2 separate regions of the Homo sapiens genome follow, and region 2 is linked to region 1. The links are contacts of gene promoters, found by promoter capture Hi-C in human tissues and cell types (Jung and others, 2019). All regions are on one chromosome and are shown on one strand. The core of a region is centred on a gene start or on the middle of the fragment in contact, and the rest is flanking DNA. Distances in the headings are between cores, read along the strand shown. Region 1 holds the start of ATG2B (autophagy related 2B). Region 2 overlaps VRK1 (VRK serine/threonine kinase 1).

Region 1 (3,646 bases), core at 586-3,085:
AAAGCATATTATTCACTCATTTATTGTATGTCTCCTCCCTTCAATAAAATGTAAGTTCCAGGAAGGAAGAGATTTATCTGTTCACTGCTGTAATCCCAGTACCTAGAACAGTGCTTGGCACACAGAAGGCAATCAATAAATATTTACTGAATAAATGAACAAACTTCCACTTTATTGAGAGAAAGGGTCTTGCTCTGTGGTTCAGGCTGGAGTGCAGTGGCATGATCATAGCTCGTACGATCCTTTCTGATATTTGAAATTGCAGGCACTCTATGGATAGCGTCAATGCAATTATGCAGCCTCAAAGTCCTGGGCTCAAGCGATCCTTCCGCCTCAGCCTCCACAAGCAGGTACCACCATGCTTCCGTTTTAGAACATAAACTCCTTGAAGGTTCGGCCTGATTCTTGACACTGTTCACATGATCAACTGTGGTGACTTTCATTTAATGGACCTTAACAAATATTTCTGAATGAAGAGCAAGGGAATCTAAGTTACTGAGAATACTTGAGATGAGTCTACAAAGAATGAGGGAAATCAACAATCCAAGCAACTGCATACAAAGTACCCTGGTTCTAAAACGAAAAGGTGGTTGTGGAAAGGGGAACCAGATGTTTCTCCATCTACCAATATTTTGGGCTGTATTTCCAAGGCATTCATGAAAGTTGCCGAGACAGTAAACATTTCACTCCTTAAACTGGTCGTCTTAATTCACTGTGATTAAACAGCTGTATGTTTCAGGACTCTGTTCAGGTTCGTGCCCTACTCATATCATTTAATCTTCCCAACAAATCCATGCACATAAGATTTTAATCCGCTCACACTCGGCAAAGGAGGCAACGTGGGCTCGGGGAGGGCAGTGGCCGCTCAAAGTGGCTGGGCGGCTAATAGGTGTCAGTGCCGGGATTCTAACGAAGGACATCTGGCTTCTGGGCCATAGAACACCCGCACCCAGGCCTTTCGAGGTTGACTTAACTTAACAGCCGGCTCCGCCTCTGCAGGAGTTACCTCCCAAAAGGCAGAAATACGATTGCGCAGACTGCCAGAACAGCCCAAGTTCTTCACCCAGGTTCCGGCGGGGTCAGGAGCCTTTAGCATTTCTCAAGGAATGCAGTTTTGCCCACAGATGCTTCGAAAACCCAAGTTTCCTGATCGTTGCTATGACACACCCAGGATTAAGCGAGCGTATGCGAGAAGCGCTCTGCAAACCGCCAGGCAAACGGCAACGAAGAAGCTGCCTCAGAAACAATACCTGAATGAGGCGGGGGCCGAAGAACTTGCTGACAATGGGCACCGGTCAATGCTCGGGTGCGGGCGGGGATGCTCGAGAAGGGCTCCAGTCCTCCCAGCGGAGACGGCGGAGCCCCAAGTGTGCGTTTCCGGGGCGCCGAGGTCTGAGGGGAGCCGGGAGAGCCAGGCCGGCCAGACCGGCCCCCAGACCCCTCTTAACACGGGCGCGGGGCCCCTGCAGCCTGCCGCCCCTCTCGGCCCAGCCAGCTGCATGGCGTCGCGTCCCCATCCGGAAGGCCTGACGGCCCGCCGGCGCCCCGAGCCCCTAGCCCTTCTCGGGGGCCGCCCCTCGCCCGCAGCCACCCCGGCTGCCGCTCACCTGCGCGCCCGGCGTCCTCTTCTTCCTTCCTCCGGAGGCGACTGGAGCCGACCGGCGGTGCCGCCCCCTCCCTCCCCGCCTTCTTCCGCCCCGCCCCCTCGGAGCCGGAACTGCTCCAGCCCCCGCCCTTCTGCCCGCCTTCCGCGGCCCCAGTGTGGCGTCACTTCCGCCAGCGCCCGGCGGCGCGCCGGGAGTCTGGGTCTCGTGAACGCGCCAGGAGCGTCCCTACAGCCGGGAACGCGCCTCGCGGATGACAACAAATTCGTCGCGCGGCGGCAGTGGCGGTGGCTGCCTCAGCCCCTGCCGCCTCCTCTCGCGCTCTCTTGCACTCTCTCCGAGCCGGTTGGGACCCTCCTCGGAAGTCCCCTGGCCTGGGGCCAGGAGGACCCCTCTGCGTCTTGCCTCCGCCAGGCCCAGCGCGAGCGGTGCGGCGCCGGCGATGGGGTCTCCCTGAGGGACTCCCGGCACCAAATAGGGATGGAGGGGCCGCCCCAGGCTTAGGCCCCGCCGCGGCCTGGAGCCGGAGTCGCTACCCCGAGGCCGGAGCCGTCGCAACCCGCAGCCGCAGTCAGCCCAGCTGCCAGCAGTCACTATGCCTTGGCCGTTTTCGGAGTCCATCAAGAAGAGGGCCTGCCGGTACCTCCTGCAGAGGTACCTGGGCCACTTTCTGCAGGAGAAGCTGAGCCTGGAGCAGCTCAGCCTGGACCTGTACCAAGGCACCGGGTCCCTCGCCCAGGTCCCCTTGGACAAATGGGTAAGAGCTGCCGGCGGCGAGCCGGGCGGGGCTCGCTCCCCTCTTTAGGGCGCTTTGAACCAGTGCCATCCAAGATTGGTGACAGTCAGTCCCTCCTTGGGAATTGTTTGGACCCGAGTGTGACACGGCTCAGAGAAATGTGTTAGAGTGTTGTTTAATCTGTTTCTAACAAGTTTGCTCTCCTAAATCACGTGTTCCGGAAACTTTAACAGATGTAATGGAATCTACACTGTGGGAATAATTGAGTCAGTGCTTCGGGGGTCTGTGAAGCAGGCTCAATAGGTCCGTGGGAGGAGGTGACCAGAACTGTCCCTCGGGATGTGAGGGGCCGCAGGGTTTTGTGGCAAACAAACCCTGCCTTGTGGGATGACATTCTGGAAGGATTAAGGATGAAGAGGACCTTTGGATGTCAGAATCCCTAGTTATTTGTTTTGGGTTGGCTGCTTGCGCACCATGTTTGCCTTGTTTGTCATCGTGCAGCGTTTGCCATCTGGAAGAAAGTTAGGTGAAGGCCTCTTGTGCCGGTTTGCCTGCTTTTGCTTGATTATATGTTTACAAGATAGGTTTGTGTATCCAGCCTGTGAATGGTCGTCTGGCCCTAGTAGTGCTGTTGAGTTATGCCTCTTTGCTCCACGTGACAGATCGTAAAAGCAGGTGTTGCAAAAGCGCTGAAGTTGCAATTTTCAGACATTTTAAAACCTGCCTTCTACTTGTCATCTAGAGGCTGTGAATTCACTCATTGCTATACAGGTGCTTCATCTGAATTTCGACTCACCACATGCAGTCGTACCTGCATTTGTGTGTTCAATGCATAGCATTTTACTTAAAGTATATTCACTTTTGGGTTTGACAGGAATAGAGTGACTTCTACCCTTTGCCCAACCCTTACTTCCTTAGCCACAGAAAATCTTAAATTATGGAAATACCTTATTATGACCCTTAAGCGAATTTGTGCTAGAGACTATAAATCAGTATATAATTTTATCAGTATGTACCTGACATAAACTAGGGAGAGGACACAAGATAGTGGAAAGAGCCCTGGTTTGAGAGCAGTAAGACCCAGTCGCTCACCAGGAGGTGAGAGTCCTACCCCTGGAGAGACTCTCCAGACCGCCACAATTAGCCGAGTGATAATGGACTTAGCAATTCACCTGAGTTCAGTAAACACTAATGGAGCACACACTTCATCTCTGTGTCGTCCGTCTTATGGTATTGTATTCCTGTAATTCTTCCAAAAGATAGGGATTCTGAAGGATATTTTTGAATTCAACAACCCATGATTCTA
Region 2 (3,793 bases), core at 957-3,456, 460 kb before region 1:
ATGAAATTTTCTTTAAAGTCATAAACTTCTCTGATATGTTTTACACTGTATAGAGACACTCTGATTCAAGGATAATTCTGGACAAACTGGACTCCACCATTCTATTAACATGGAACCAACATATTTTTATCTCCATTCTTCCCAGCACAAAGCCTTTTCTCTCATTTAACCTCTCCTTATACATTGATTGACATTTTCCCCATACCTAAAGACCTATCTCTTCTGAAGTCAGATATGACCTGAAGTTTCAGTACTGTTTGTACCTCTTATTGCATGTGACAAATAACTTTCCCTATAAGCTTATAAGCTCCTCGTATATGAGAAATGTCTTAGTCACAATACATTGTAGTTAGCAGGAATTCACTAAATCCATAAAATTAAACAGCAAAAAAGTTTAGTATTTTTCCCCAACTACCAGATATCTAACTTTATGTTTAATATACATCACCCAACTGCAAAGGACAATGTCATTCCTCAAAAGTCCAGCAACCACCCTCTACAATGACTATGTCAAACTCTATTTATTCTTCCTCAAAACTCTAATTCCCCTTCCTAAGCCATAATTATCAACAGATGACCTACTCTAGTTTAGAGAGAAAACAGAAACTTCAGATGGGAATTCCCTATCTTTCTAAGAGCCACACCTACAAACCACCTGCACCCACTTCAAGCCAATCCTAGCTTCCTTCTCTCCTATCACATTGAAAGAAACTATCCTCCTCCTATCAAACATCAAGTCCTTCACCTTTGCTTTGGATCCCATCCCCTCCAACCTTCTCAAGACTTACACTATTAATTAATCCTTCTCTAATATATTCAATGTCTCCCTCAACTAGATCCTTCCCATCAGCTATTAAAAATGCTTATGGCTCTGCCATTTTAAAAAATTAATGTTTTTGGCCGGGTGCGGTGGCTCACACCTGTAATCTCAGCACTTTGGGAGGCCGAGGCGGGTGGATCACGAGGTCAGGAGATCGAGACCATCCTGGCTAACATGGTGAAATCCCGTCTCTACTAAAAATACAAAAAATAAGCCAGGCGTGGTGGTGGATGCCTGTAGTCCCAGCTACTCGGGAGACTGAGGCAGGAGAATGGTGTGAACCCAGGAGGCAGAGCTTGCAGTGAGCCGAGACGGCGCCACTGCACTCCAGGCTGGGCGACAGAGGGAAAAAAAAAAAAAAAAAATTAATGTTTTTAATCCCCCTCTGCTATCTCTGCTATCATCCTTTCTTTTCCCTTTCAATGCCAAATGTCTGTACTTGCCATTTCAATAATCGTCTGTACTTGCCAATATTTCCTTTCACCTACTTATCCAACTCACTCCGAGATCCGCCTTCATGATTCCTCTCTAATAACCCTTGCTGAGGTCACCAGTGACTTCCATGCTATGAAATCTAGCTGACACTGAATCATCTCATTTGCCTGCCCAGAAGCACTCAACACTGCTCATTCTTTCTTTCTTGAAACATTCTCTTCCTTTTGCTTTCAAAATACAGTAGTATCCTGGATTCCAGTCTACCATTTAGGCTACTCACAGTCCTAGGCAATTTGAGGAATACAGTAAATTCTTTTTTCAAGATGAAATGAGCTTTCATTCAGGGAGCTTGTTCCACTTTATCATATACAGTTTTCCAGGGTTTTATCATGTTAAAAAAGCAGACCACCTACATTTCCACAGCTTACACCAAAATACAAATTTTATTATGTGAAAATAAATTATATATTTAAAAATGTGCTACTCAATAAAATTAAGATCTTTGGAAATTCAGGACATTTATTTGAAAAAATAATTGATGTTTATTCCTTTAAGTTAACAGATCTCTAGGAAAAAGTTTGTAGTCTCAAAGAGGTATCTGTACACCCATGTGCACAGCAGCACTATCCACAATAATAGTAAAAGGTGGAAGCAACCTGAGTGTCCATTAACAGATGAATGAATAAATGTGGCATGTATATACAATGGAATATTATTCAGCCTTGAAAAATAGAAGTAAATTCTGACACACACTACACCACAGATGAATCTTGAGGACAGTTATGCTAAGTGAAATAAGCCAGAGGCTGGAGGGAGGGAGAAAAGAGAGTTGTTGTTTAGTGGTATATAGAGTTTCGAATTTGCAAATTAAGTTCTAGAGATCTGCTTCACAACAATATGAATACACTTAACGCTACTGTGTACACTTAAAAATGGTTAAGATGGGAAATCTTCTATGTTTCTTATCACAATTTTTTAAAAAAGAAAACAGTTTCTAGATGCAGCAGATAAAAAAGGCAGAAATTAAGTTGAATCAAGATAATACCAACGTGTTCCTGATGACTACAGAATCATTCCTGCCCCCATACACACACAACTGGAAAAGCATTACAATTGGTATTTTTTTCAGAGGTTATTCTTATAGATGCTAATTACATAAATCTACTAGTTATCACAGCAATAAATAAATGTTAACTGTGGATTATGTAAATTCATGAAGGGTAATGACATAGTCTGTTCATTCACTCACTCTACAAATAGTCACTGATAATCTACAATGTGCCAAGCACTGTTCTAGGCACTTGCTATACCTCAAGGAACAAAACAAAGGTCCTTCTCTTTTGACACATTCTGGCAGGAAGAGACAGATAAAAAGAACAAATAATGCATATGTTACCTAATATTTCAGAAAATCCAGTCATGTTTTAAAAACATAAAGCAGGTAAAGGGAGATAGAGGATAGGGAGTAGAAGGTAGAAGGGGAAAGCTTGCAGTGAAACAGAGTGGTCATGGTCAGCCTCCTCTGAAAGGACTTTGCTCATTGGAACAAGGACTTGAAGGAGTTGAGGAAGAGGACCATGTGAGTATCTGGGCAGAGAGTATAGGCAGAGGGACGAGTTGTGCAAAGACCCTAAGGTGGGAGCACACCTGGCAACCAAAGAGTAAGAATGCCAGTGTGGCTGGTGTGGCGTGAGCAAGGGGGAAGCAGGAGATCAAGTCCCAAAGGTTAGCACAGGAGCAAGAGATCAAGTAGGGCCTTGAAGGCTACTGTCAGGACTCTGAATTTCACCACAGGGTAAATGGATTTCTACAAGGTTTGGAACTTGCTGTATACTTGCATTGTAGTTCACAACACTTCAATCAAATTGAAAATCATGCACTGAACACCTAAGTCAAGAAAAATTCTCCTGCTGACTTAATTCTCACCAAAGATTTTACATTTGTTATATTTTTTGCTAATGTGTTAGTCCATTCTAAAAATACATTCCATCTATAAACTATATAAGCTTGATACAAATCCAAAATGTTAAGTGCTTCTGTAGTGCCTCTGTCACAAGTCACCTCACGATAGGAATGGTTTTGCAATGAATCAAATTCTGTGCCTAAAAAGTAGAGAATAGGACTAGACCCTATTTTCCCTTTAATGTAAATATCAGTAATTTAGTAGTGCTATTAGAGTGAATGGTCTGCAACTTTTTGACAAGAAATACAAAAACTTTACCATGCTACACCCCTCTTAAAATTTAAAATAAAAACAATACTGAGTCCCATTGGAATTCTACATTATTACAATACATACTGCCTGCTTAATTAATTTGTTTACTCAACAAGTATTTATTGACAGCACACTCTGTGCAGGAACTGTTCTACAAGACAAGAATAAAAAGTGAACAAAGCAGACAAAAACTCCTGCCTTCATGGAGCTTATATTTTATTCAGTAGAGAAAAATAATTTTCTAAAAATTAAAACATGTCATATGTCCAATGGTATAAGGGCTAAGGAAAAAAAAAAAAAGGCAGGGACAGGGAGTTGGGGGC

What was found. The method cuts DNA at HindIII sites, captures the fragments that hold promoters and counts their contacts. A contact is called where the count stands out against the background at its distance.
Region 2: a fragment that was not itself captured here is called in contact with the fragment with the promoter of ATG2B in region 1 in 1 of the 25 tissues and cell types used here (mesendoderm cells).

The regions. Positions count from the first base shown.
Region 1 is chr14:96,361,530-96,365,175 of GRCh38, reverse strand. It overlaps ATG2B (autophagy related 2B), which reads left to right and starts at 1,835. Exons shown (of 42, transcript NM_018036.7): 1 at 1,835-2,361. The coding sequence starts at 2,200. It overlaps GSKIP (GSK3B interacting protein), which reads right to left and starts at 1,650. Exons shown (of 4, transcript NM_016472.5): 1 at 1,608-1,650. RefSeq lists a silencer at 1,378-1,727 and enhancers at 929-1,749, 1,670-1,964, 3,206-3,275. The HindIII fragment of the contact is 16,004 bases long and covers 1-3,646 here.
Region 2 is chr14:96,822,058-96,825,850 of GRCh38, reverse strand. All of the region lies in intron 1 of VRK1 (VRK serine/threonine kinase 1), which reads right to left. Among named protein-coding and RNA genes, the nearest start is that of VRK1, 27 kb to the right of the region's middle. The HindIII fragment of the contact is 4,580 bases long and covers 1-3,793 here.